Regions from separate parts of the Homo sapiens genome. Here region 2 is linked to region 1. The links are contacts of gene promoters, found by promoter capture Hi-C in human tissues and cell types (Jung and others, 2019). All regions are on one chromosome and are shown on one strand. The core of a region is centred on a gene start or on the middle of the fragment in contact, and the rest is flanking DNA. Distances in the headings are between cores, read along the strand shown. Region 1 holds the start of UCP2 (uncoupling protein 2). Region 2 overlaps C2CD3 (C2 domain containing 3 centriole elongation regulator).

Evidence for each region. The method cuts DNA at HindIII sites, captures the fragments that hold promoters and counts their contacts. A contact is called where the count stands out against the background at its distance.
Region 2: a contact is called between a fragment that was not itself captured here and the fragment with the promoter of UCP2 in region 1, in 5 of the 25 tissues and cell types used here (H1 embryonic stem cells, IMR-90 fibroblasts, dorsolateral prefrontal cortex and 2 more).

Annotation. Positions count from the first base shown.
Region 1 is chr11:73,978,246-73,984,294 of GRCh38, reverse strand. It overlaps UCP2 (uncoupling protein 2), which reads left to right and starts at 1,452. Exons shown (of 8, transcript NM_003355.3): 1 at 1,452-1,574; 2 at 2,663-2,819; 3 at 5,818-6,042. The coding sequence starts at 5,917. RefSeq lists enhancers at 115-615, 3,867-3,926 and silencers at 872-1,031, 1,332-1,541. The HindIII fragment of the contact is 13,644 bases long and covers 1-4,968 here.
Region 2 is chr11:74,112,050-74,118,098 of GRCh38, reverse strand. It overlaps C2CD3 (C2 domain containing 3 centriole elongation regulator), which reads left to right. Exons shown (of 33, transcript NM_001286577.2): 10 at 3,506-3,715; 11 at 4,207-4,319. Among named protein-coding and RNA genes, the nearest start is that of C2CD3, 56 kb to the left of the region's middle. The HindIII fragment of the contact is 4,899 bases long and covers 294-5,192 here.

The sequences.
Region 1 (6,049 bases), core at 203-2,702:
ATCTGTTCTGCTGTTGCTCAGCAATCTCACAGCAAATTTGCCGAGCCTCTCCGGAATGCACAGCCAGACAGAGCTCAGCGCAAAAGCTAGAGAACCTGGCGGAGGGAGACTCACAGTGCCACAAAAAAACTTTATCTTTTCTTTTTTTTTTTCTTTTCTTTCTTTCTCTTTCTTTCTTGTCTTTCTGTCTTTCCTCTCTCTCTCTCTGTCTTTCTTTCCTCTCTTTCTTTCTTTTTTCCTACATGGCAAGATCTCCTCATGGCAGAAATAATCTGCCTTGACTTCTGTTTCCACGCTGCTTCTGCCAGGACCATGCGCTCGGCGTGTTTTTCTTTCCGCTATAATTATCCAGGCCCATCCCAGCTCTGGTCCCCTCAGCTGTTCCCTGGCAGTCCCTTCTGCTGGTGAAAACACATATGGCGCCGGCCTGACCAGGGTGTAAGTGTGTGAATATCAGGAAGATGACTGAACGTCTTTGGGACTCCGTTTCCTCATTGTAAAATGGAGGTTAATACCAGCCTTCTTCTACTCCCCAAACGCACGTGTTTGTCCCGGCCAGAGGGCCCAATTGTTGGCTGTTCACGCGTCAGTTACCCCCACAGGACGGGTCAGCCAATTAAAGGCGAACCAGGCCCGGTCCATCTCCTGACGCCTTTTCTCATCCCAGGGCTGGACAGGCAGCTGGCCTGGGCCCGGCTCTGCCTTGTCACGTGCGGGGGCCGGCCCGTTTGCTTGTCTGTGTGTAGGAGCGTGAGGTCACGCTGGGTGCTCCCGCCCCGCCGGGGCCTTTAGTGTCCTGGTCCCTAAACGCCAGGCCGCTCCACCGGGGGAGAAGGCGCGAACCCCAGCCGAGCCCAACGGCTGTTGTCGGTTGCCGGGCCACCTGTTGCTGCAGTTCTGATTGGTTCCTTCCCCCGACAACGCGGCGGCTGTAACCAATCGACAGCGAGGCCGGTCGCGAGGCCCCAGTCCCGCCCTGCAGGAGCCAGCCGCGCGCTCGCTCGCAGGAGGGTGGGTAGTTTGCCCAGCGTAGGGGGGCTGGGCCCATAAAAGAGGAAGTGCACTTAAGACACGGCCCCGCTGGACGCTGTTAGAAACCGTCCTGGCTGGGAAGGCAAGAGGTGTGTGACTGGACAAGACTTGTTTCTGGCGGTCAGTCTTGCCATCCTCACAGAGGTTGGCGGCCCGAGAGAGTGTGAGGCAGAGGCGGGGAGTGGCAAGGGAGTGACCATCTCGGGGAACGAAGGAGTAAACGCGGTGATGGGACGCACGGAAACGGGAGTGGAGAAAGTCATGGAGAGAACCCTAGGCGGGGCGGTCCCCGCGGAAAGGCGGCTGCTCCAGGGTCTCCGCACCCAAGTAGGAGCTGGCAGGCCCGGCCCCGCCCCGCAGGCCCCACCCCGGGCCCCGCCCCCGAGGCTTAAGCCGCGCCGCCGCCTGCGCGGAGCCCCACTGCGAAGCCCAGCTGCGCGCGCCTTGGGATTGACTGTCCACGCTCGCCCGGCTCGTCCGACGCGCCCTCCGCCAGCCGACAGACACAGCCGCACGCACTGCCGTGTTCTCCCTGCGGCTCGGTGAGCCTGGCCCCAGCCCTGCGCCCTTTGCGCCCCCCACGCTTGTTCTGCGTGCGCTGCCCGCTCTTCCATTTACCTTCTCTCCCACCCAAGTTTGTACTCTTTTCTTTCTCTCGGTTTTATTTTTTGTTTTTGTTTGTTTGTTTGAGACAGGCTTTCGCTCTGTCTCCCAGGCTGGAGTGCAGTGGCGCGATCTCGGCTCACTGCAGCCTCCACCTCCCAGGTTCAAGCGATCCGCCTGCCGAGTAGCTGGGATTACAGGCGCCCGCCACCACGCCTGGCTAATTTTTGTGTTTTGTAGAGATGGGGTTTCGCCATGTTGGCCAGGCTGGCCTCGAACTGCTGAGCTCAAGCAATCCGCCCGCCTCGGCCTCACAAAGTCCTAGAATTTTAGGCATGAGCCTCCGGGTCCGGCCTGTGCTAATCCTTTCTGTCCTTGGTTCTTTATTTCTCTTCTCTCTTTTTCTTAGTCCCTTTTGTTCTTTCCCTCTCCCGTTCAGTTGGCTGTCGTTTGAGCCTCCACCTTTTCACTCCCTCCTTTCCACCACGATGCCGAGCCCTGCCTTGGATGGGGACCATCAGCGATGACCACAATGACCTCTCCCTTACCAGGCAGCTCCAGGCAGTGTTCCTGCACCGCCTTTCCCAGGGCTTGGGGGCTTTTTCTAGTGGGCTTTGAGCTGCTCAATCTGGCCTCTGCAGGGCCGGCTCCCAGCCCTTCCAACCTCCTCACAGCCCGACCTGGGACCTAGCCAATTCCCGGAGAGTCTCTGTCCCATCGTGACCCCCTCACAACTCTCCCACTCACCAAAGTCTGATGACTGTGCTAGGGGGTGCTTATATAGAGTACTGAGTGTTACAAAAGCAGAAGTCTGGATGAGAACCAATTTGTGATATTAAGCAGGTGGGGTGGGGGTGGGGAGTGTACCTAGGTTCATTTTCCGCCCTGCTTTTCCCCTTTCCAGTGTGTGCACTTAACCAGTCCCTGGGCCCTGTTCCCCATCCCCCTCCAAGGCATGGATTGGGTGGGCTTGTGTGTCTTGGGGCAGGTGGCCCTTTCTAAACTCTCTGCCTTTGCTCACCCACAGGACACATAGTATGACCATTAGGTGTTTCGTCTCCCACCCATTTTCTATGGAAAACCAAGGGGATCGGGCCATGATAGCCACTGGCAGCTTTGAAGAACGGGACACCTTTAGAGAAGCTTGATCTTGGAGGCCTCACCGTGAGACCTTACAAAGCCGGGTAAGAGTCCAGTCCAAGGAAGAGGTCTCTTGCTGCCTCCTAACCCTGTGGTCTAGGGGCAGGAGTCAGCAGGGCATTAACAAAAATAATTACCATCCCCACCCCCGACAGTGAAGTGGCTCTTTCCAGTTCACAGAGCACTCTCACACCTCCCCGCTCTCATTCTGGCCCTTCAGCTGACTCGGACAAGCCAAGGATCTTGGTCCCCATTTTATAAAGGAGAAAACTGAGGCCCACGTGTAACAGTGATTGGCCCCAAGTCATCCCGGGAGCCAGCAGAAGAGCTAGGACAGGAACCTATTGTTCTAACTTCATATTGATGCTAGCTTTTGACTATCCCTGAAACCGAGATTGGTAATCAGCCCGGCTCTGAAACTGGTTATTTGCTGGGGACTGTAAAATAGGATTAACTATTTCTAGTCCTGCATTTTAATTGCTGTTAGTAGGGCCATCTTACCCACCCTCTGAAGGACCTGACTTGGCAAGCCCAAGGCAACATTCAGAATATGGCAGCTGAACCTCTGTGCACTTGTCTTTGGGCAGCAGCTGGGTCTTATTCTTCTCTGGCCTTCACAACATCCTGCAACCCAGCTCAAGGTCAGGAATGTGACAGACTCATGTCATCATATCTCTGATGCCCAGAGAAGGGATACCATTTGCCTGAGCCTTCTCAGTACTGTTTAATCAGCCTGTGAGAACTTTCCTTGTGAAAGGCCCTGTCTGTGCCTGGGGCTGATAAAACAGCAAGAACGAACTGAGGAGCTGGGCAGCAGTGCAAAGCAAATACTACCAGCTTTGGTGCCTGTAAGTGTGGCTCTTACTCATCTCACATGGAAATAAGGGCAGCCACCTTGCAGGGCTGCTCTGAGGATTGAGCTAATACAGTGCCCTGGGCGTTGGGGTGGGGAAAGTTGTGGAGCACCTCCTGGGGGAAGGGGGTGTCAGAGCAGGGAATCTGGGGAGTCCGAGGGCACCTTCATCAACCCAATCTGTCATTTGAGCACCAGTCTTCACTGAGCCTCGTGGGCAAGCTGGAGGGAAACAGGAATAAGGTCAGGCCCTGTTCTATAGGTCCCAGTGTAGTTGCTATGGTGAGTATCTTCATTTCCCTGCTTGCCCCAGCCACCTGGAGTGAGAAGCCCAAGAGGAAGCTGGGTGAGCTGTTTGTTTCCATGGGTCTCTGTGTTCACAGCTGACTCCCTTCACCAGCCAGCCCTTTCACCTGAGCCCCAGCAACAAAGGCAGTCAGGCGGGGCTCAAAGCAGCTGCTCCAATGAAGTCAAAGAAATAAGCTCAGGGGAAGAAGCAGGTCACCCTCCCCCACTAGGGTGCTGGGCTCACTTCCTCCTGGGGCAGTGGAGGAGGGTGTGGTTCCAACTCAGAACAAAATGGGGCTTTTGGTTTACTTTATCACTCTTCACAGCTCTGACCTGGACCCCTCATCCCTGCCTGTCTTGTGGTGTAAGTGCGGATCCCCCTAAGTTGGAGGAAAGGAAACTGGCCCAAACAAAAAGGAGAGCAGTTTTCTCTGCATCACATGGTAGGCCAGGAGGAGTCTAATGCCCCAGAGTTTACTCTCAGCCCCCAAAATCACCTAGCTAAATGTTACCTTATCTAAGAAGTCCTTAGGTTTTTTGGGGTTTGTTTTTTTTTTTTTTGAGACAAGGTCTCACTCTCTCACCCAGACTGGAGCACAGTGGCACAATCACAGCTCACTGCAGCCTCAACCTCCTGGGCTCAAGCAATCGTCCCAAGTAGCTGGGACTATAGGCCTGCACCACCATGTCCAGCTAATTTATTTTTATTTATATTTTTTAGACAGGGTCTCATTATGTTGCCCTGGCTGGTCTTGAACTCCTGGGTTCAAGCAGTCCTCCCACCTCTGCCTCCCAAAGTGCTAGGTTTTTTTTTGTTTGTTTGTCTGTTTTTTGAAACAGAGTCTTGCTCTGTCGCCTAGGCTGGAGTGCAGTGGCACGATCTCAGCTACTGCAACCTCCACCTCCTGGGTTCAAGTGATTCTCCTGCCTCAGCCTCCTAAGTAGTTGGGAATACAGGCGTGTGCCAACACACCCAGCTCATTTTTGTATTTTTAGCGGAGATGGGGTTTTGCCATGTTGGCCAAGCTGGTCTCAAACTCCTGACCTCAGGTGATTCGCCCGCCTCAGCCTCCCAAAGTGCTGGGTTTACAGGCGTGAGCCACCACACCCAGCCCAAGAAGTCTTTTCTGATCACCCACTCTTCCTTCTCTCCCAATGGCATTAGTTGTTCCCTCCTTTGCATTTTGAGAGTATGTCCTGTAAGCCCCAAATGCAGCTTGAATCATCTGCCCATCCACCCCCTGTGCCCAACAGTAAGCCTCCTCTAGAGTAGATACTATCTCCTGCATCTCAGTGAACCACTGCCCAGCAAAGCAGTCTTGCTAAAACAATGACTCTAGAGATCCTAAGCTGTGTGAGAGCTGGAGGAGAGAATTAGACTGATGGTCTGGGAAGGGATTGAATTAGTCATCTTGTACCTTTTCTTCTTGACTTAAGTTCCAGACCTGTAGCAACCATTCCTGCTTAGACATCCAGAACATAAGCCTATGGGTCTGTGCCTGTTGGGTCTTAGTCTGGGTGAAACTTTTCTCTACTTCTGTCAGCTCTCCAGATGAACCACAGAAGCAGGAATGTGGGCATCATCAGTGAAATCTCTGCATACAGCAGACAAAGGGCTGGTCCAGTGGCTGTTTATGAGGCAGCGCTAGGAGAGCTCTGATCCAGACTCTCCCTGCAGTGAAAGGGAGGGAGCCCTTCATGAAGTATTGACTGCTTGAGCAGGAATTGCTTCACCAGCACCTAACTGAGTGCCTCTCGAGCTCACATCGGTTTTCCCTCATGAGGCCACTTGGAGTCTTGCTGAGGGACTTGGTTCTATTAGGGAAGGTGAGTTTGGGGATGGTGAGCAGGGAGGGCCTGGGGACATTGTGGCTAATGGGGCTTTTCTCCTCTTGGCTTAGATTCCGGCAGAGTTCCTCTATCTCGTCTTGTTGCTGATTAAAGGTGCCCCTGTCTCCAGTTTTTCTCCATCTCCTGGGACGTAGCAGGAAATCAGCATCATGGTTGGGTTCAAGGCCACAGATGTGCCCCCTACTGCCACTGTGAAGTTTCTTGGGGCTGGCACAGCTGCCTGCATCGCAGATCTCATCACCTTTCCTCTGGATACTGCTAAAGTCCGGTTACAGGTGAGGG
Region 2 (6,049 bases), core at 1,494-3,993, 130 kb before region 1:
TGTAATTCTTAAAAATGTAATAATCTGAAAAGATGGCTAAATTTGTTTTCCATAGGTTTTGGGGAACAGGTGGTGTTTGATTACCTGAATAAGTTCTTTAGTGGTGATTTCTGAGATTTTGGTGCTCCCATCACCCAAGCAATATGACACTGTACCCAATTTGTAGTCTTTTTTTTTTTTTTTTTGAGACGGAGTTTCGCTCTTGTTTCCCAGACTGGAGTGCAATGGCACGATCTCAGATCACCGCAACCTCCACCTCCCAGATTGAAGCAATTCTTCTGCCTCAGCCTCCCGAGTAGCTAGGATTACAGGCATGTGCCCCCATGCCCGACTAATTTTGTATTTTTAGTAGAGACGGCGTTTCTCCATGTTGGTCAGGTTGGTCTTGAACTCCCAACCTCAGGTGATCCGCCCACCTTGGCCTCCCAAAGTGCTGGGATTACAGTTGTGAGCCACCACACCCGGCCTCCAATTAGTAGTCTTTTATCCCTCACCTTCTTCCCACTCTTGCCCTCAGTTTCCAAAGTCCATTGTATCATTCTTATGCCTTTGCATCCTCATAGCTTTGCTTCCACTTATGAGTGAGAACATATGATATTTGGTTTTCTGTTCCTGAGTTACTTCACTTAGAAAAATGGTCTCCAATTCCATCTAGGTTGCTGCAAATGCCATTATTTCATTTCCTTTTTATAGTTGAGTAGTATTCCATATATATATATATATATATATATATATATTTGAGGCCAAATGACTTAGACGATGTCACCTAATTATTTGGGTAGACTACTTTTTTTTTTTTGAGACGGGGTCTCACTATGTTGCCCAGGCTGGAGTGCAGTGGCACAATCACAGCTCACTCATATATATATATTCATATATATATATTCATATATATATATTCATATATATATATTCATATATATATATTCATATATATATATTCATATATATATATTCATATATATATATTCATATATATATATTCATATATATATATTCATATATATATATTCATATATATATTCATATATATATATTCATATATATATACACACACACGTATATATACATATACACGTATATATGTGTATATATACATATACACGTATATGTGTATATATACGTGTATATGTGTATATACACATATATACGTGTATATGTGTATATACACGTGTATATGTATATATACATACACGTGTGTATATATACACGTGTGTATATATACATATACACGTGTATATACACATATACACGTGTATATATACACACACGTATATATGTGTGTGTATATATATACGTGTGTGTGTGTATATATATACACACATATATGTATACCACAATTTCTTTATCCATTCATTGATTGATGGGCATTTAGGCTGGTTCCATATTTTTGCAATTGCAAATTGTGCTGCTATAAGCATGCAAGTACAAGTATCTTTTTCATATAGTGACTTCTTTTCCTCTGGGTAGATACCTAGAAGTAGGATTGCTGGGTCAAATGGTAGTTCTACTTTTAGTTCTTTAAGGAATGTCCACACTGTTTTCCATGGTAGTTGTACTAGTTTACATTCCCACCAGCAGTGTAATAGTGTTCCCTTTTCACCACATCCTCACCAACATTCTTTTTTTTTTTAATTTTTTATTATGGCCATTCTTGCAGGAGTAAAGTGGTATCGCATTGTGGTTTTGATTTGCATTTCCCTGATCATTAGTGATGTTGAGCATATTTTCATACGTTTGTTGGCCATTTGTATATCTTCTTTTGAGAATTGTTTATTCATGTCCTTAGACCACTTTTTGATGGGATTGTTTGATTTTTTCTTGCTAATTTGTTTGCATTCCTTATAGATTCTGGATATTAGTCCTTTGTCAGATGTATAGATTGTGAAGATTTTCTCCCATTCTGTGGGTTGTCTGTTTACTCTGCCGACTGTTTCTTTTGCTGTGCAGAAGCTTTTTAGTTTAATTAAGTCCCATCTATTTATCTTTGTTTTTGTTGCATTTGCTTTTGGGTTCTTGGATATGAAGTCTTTGTCTAAACCATGTCTAGAAGGGTTGTTCCATTGTTATCTTCTAGAATTTTTATGATTTGAGGTCTTAGATTTAAGTCCTTGATCCATCTTGAGTCGATAGTTTTATAAGGTGAGAGATGAACATCCAGTTTCATTCTTCTACATGTGGCTTGCCAATTGTCCCAGCACCATTTGTTGAATAGGGTGTCCTTTCACCACTTTATGTTTTTGTTTGCTTTGTTGAAGATCAGTTGGCTATAAGTATTTGGCTTTATTTCTGGATTCTCTATTCTGTTCCATTGGTCTATGTGTCTATTTTTATACCAATACCATGCTGTTTTGGTGACTGTGGCCTTATAGTATAGTTTGAAGTCAGGTAATGTGATGCCTCCAGATTTGTTCTTTTTGCTTAATCTTGCTTTGGCTATGTGGGCTCTTTTTTGGTTCCATATGAATTTTAACATTTTTTTTCCTAGTTCTGTGAAGAATGATGAGGGTATTTTGATGGGAATTGCACTGAATTTGTAGATTGCTTTTGGCAGTATGGTCGTTTTCATATTTTTGATTCTACCAAGATAGGTATAATTTAAATGGTTAAGGAAGAAAGCAGAATTCTAGGTTGTATGTGTACTGTGATCACAACTGTGTAGAAAATATGCATAAGGAAAGCAAATGAGAAGGAATACACAAAAGTGACAATAGTAGTTACATTAGAATAGTGGGTAACTGAAATAAGGTCTGTGTCCCTTCTAGAAAAACCTAAATTTGGAGTTTCAGTTTCTGTACTCATATGTATTGTATAATGTATGTGTGTGTATATATGTTGTGTGTGTATAAGTGTGTGTATATATATGTATGTATATATATATGTATGTATGTGTGTGTGTGTGTGTATATATCTATATAGTATTTTTAAATTTTTTTTTTACCTGGGAGCATAGATTCAAATTACCCTGAATATACACTCTCAAACCTTTAGATTATATTTTTTTTTTACATTTTTTGAGATTTCTTGTACTATAGGACCAGAATTCTGATAATAAAAGCTGTTTCCAATCCTTGATAACTTGTGAGTCAAGATACTTGGCTGGGTGTGGTTGTTCACACCTGTAATCCCAGCACTTTGGGAGGCTGAGGCAGGAGGATTGCTTGAGTCCGGGAGTTCAAGACCAGCCTGGGCAACATAGTAATATCTCATCTCTACAAAAAATACAAAAATTAGCCAAGTGTGATGACCCATGCTTGTGGTCCCAGCTACTTGGGAAGTTGAGGTGGGAGGATCATTTGAGCCCAGGAGGTCAAGGCTGCAGTAAGCCATGATCGTGCCACTGCACTCCAGCCTGGGTGACAGAGCAACACCCTGTGTCAAAAATAAAAATAAAAAAATAAAAACTTGCTGCCCTCCCTTTTTCCTCATCTTGCCTGTGCAAACTAGATTGTTTCATGTGAAGCCTGTAGCAGTATGCCTCACTGCTTGTGTGAACTCCTTTCAGAAATTTGGTTGAACAACAGATGCTCTCAGAAACTCCAGAAGATGCCCAAACGATGACACTAAGTGTGGATAGACTGGCCCTTTTGGGTAGAACACATTCAGTCAGAATCATCATCGAAACCATGGGAGTTCCTCCAGATAGTCCTCAGATGACCCCTGGCAAAAAAAGCTATGCTGGTCCACCACCTAAGGTGACTACAGCAAAAAAGCGGTATGTCTCTAACATGAGAAAGCTAAATTTGACATTTTTGGAAAGTGTGTCTGATGGTAATAATCAACAATTGCATAATACTGTGATTTGGGATGTGTTTTCATATGCATCATTTAATCTACAGAAATATATTGAATCCCTGCTATATCCCAAGAACTGTGTAAGTAAGTATGGGACTAAAGAAAATTAAGATACAGACTCTGTTCTTACATATCTTACAGTTAGCAGGAGAGAGAAACATTTAAATGGCTATCTATAACATAAAGCTTTAGGGCCCAAAATAGATGTTTTGTATTAAAATTGCTGTGGGAACACAAGAAAGGGAGCCTTTGATTCTCTCAGACAGGGTTGGTGGAAGGCTTTGAAGAAGAGGTAGGGCCTCTGAGTACTAGAGGTCCTGAAAGTAAGATTTCAAATATATGTTGGATTTATCAGACGGAAATTAGGTTTATTGTTTGGTTAGTTTTTAATCACTTTTTTTTTCTTTTTAGCACTTTCTTTGTAGAATATCACTTTCCTGTGGGCTTTTCGGAAAGCGGATTGGGAAAGACAGCTTTGATCACTGAGGTTGTTCGACTCGCCTCCAGTAAAATTACAGATGGAAGTAAGAGACACACTGGTTTTCTGCACCTTAGACATTCTGACTTTGGAAGAATTTTTGAATTCCTAATTACTCATTTGACTTTTTTTTTTTTTTTTTTTTTGACATGGAGTCTCACTCTTTCGCCCAGGCTGGAGTGTGGTGGCGCAATCTCTGCTCACTGCAGCCTCCACCTCCCGGGTTCAAGTGATTCTCCCATCTCAGCCTCCTGAGTAGCTGGGATTACAGGCGTATGCCACCACACCCAGCTAATTTTTGTATTTTTTAGTAGAGACAGGGTTTCACCATGTTGGCCAGGGTGGTCTCAAACCCCTGACCTTAAGTGATCCGCCTGCCTCGGCCTCCCAAAGTGCTGGGATTACAGGCATAAGCCATCACGCCCAGCCAATATTTTCAAGGCTGTGCAACCATCACCACAATCTAATTTTAGAACATTTTCATCCCCCCTAAAAGAAACCCCATACTTACTAGCATTCGCTTCGCATTTCCCTCTTCCCCCAGCCCTAAGCAACTGCTAATCTTTCTTTCCCTATCAATTTGTCCATTCTGGATGTCTCATATAAATGGAATCATGCAACTTGTGATTTTTGTGACTACTGTCTTTGACTTACCATAATATTTTTAAGTTTCATGTTATAGTATATATCAGTACTTCATTCCTTTCTATGGCTGAGTAATACTCCATTGCATAGATATACCACATTTCATTTATCCTTTTCTCAGTTGCTGGACATTCGTGTTATTTCCACTTCCTGGCAATTTTGCATAATGCTGCTATGTGAACATTTGTGTACGTGGTTTTGTATGGACTGTGTGCTTTCATTTCCCTTGGGTATATATCTAATGGTAGAATTGCTGGGTCATATGGTAACTTTATGTTTTAACTTTTTCAAGAACTGCCAGACTGTTTTCAACAGTGGCTGCACCATTTTCCCACTAGCAGTATATGAAGGTTCTAATTTGTCTACATCCTCGTCAACACTTGTTACTTTCCATTCTTTTTTATTCTGGTCATCCTGGTGGATGTGAAGTGACATCACATTGATTTTGATTTGCATTTTCCTGATGGCCAATCATGTCAAGCATCTTTTCATGTGCTTATTGGCCATTTATAGATCTTCTTTGGAGAAATGTCTATTCAGATCCTTTGTTCACTTTCAAATCAGGCTTTTTGTTATTGAGTTATAAGAGTTCTTTGTATATCCTAGATACAAGCCCCTTATCAGATCTATGATTTGCAAATATTTTCTCCCATTCTGTGGGTTGTCCTTTCACTCTCTAGATGGTATTGTTTACAGCACAAAAGTTTTTAATTTTTATGTACTCTAGTTTATCTGTTTTTTTTTCTTTTGTTGCTTAGGCTTTTGGTGTTGTCTTTTTTTTCTAATTTGTTTTAAATATTTCAGATACAGAAAAAGGATAATATAATAGACATTTATGTTCCTGCCACCCAAAATTACAGCCACTTTTCTAATATATTCTGAGGATAGCTTTGCCTTGGTTCTCCAGTTTGATCTATGAATAGTTAGTTCATCAGTGTTAAGTTTATTCTCTGGGAAGTAGTTTGAGAAATAAAAGATGTGGTCCTAACACTCCTACTACATAGTCAAATAACTTTTCCTTTACAGCATAGTAACACGGGATTTTTAAATTTTTACTTTGCTTTGTTTTGTTTCCTTTTTGAAATAGATAATCCATTCACATGGTTCAAAATTGAACGGTTGCATCCTTGC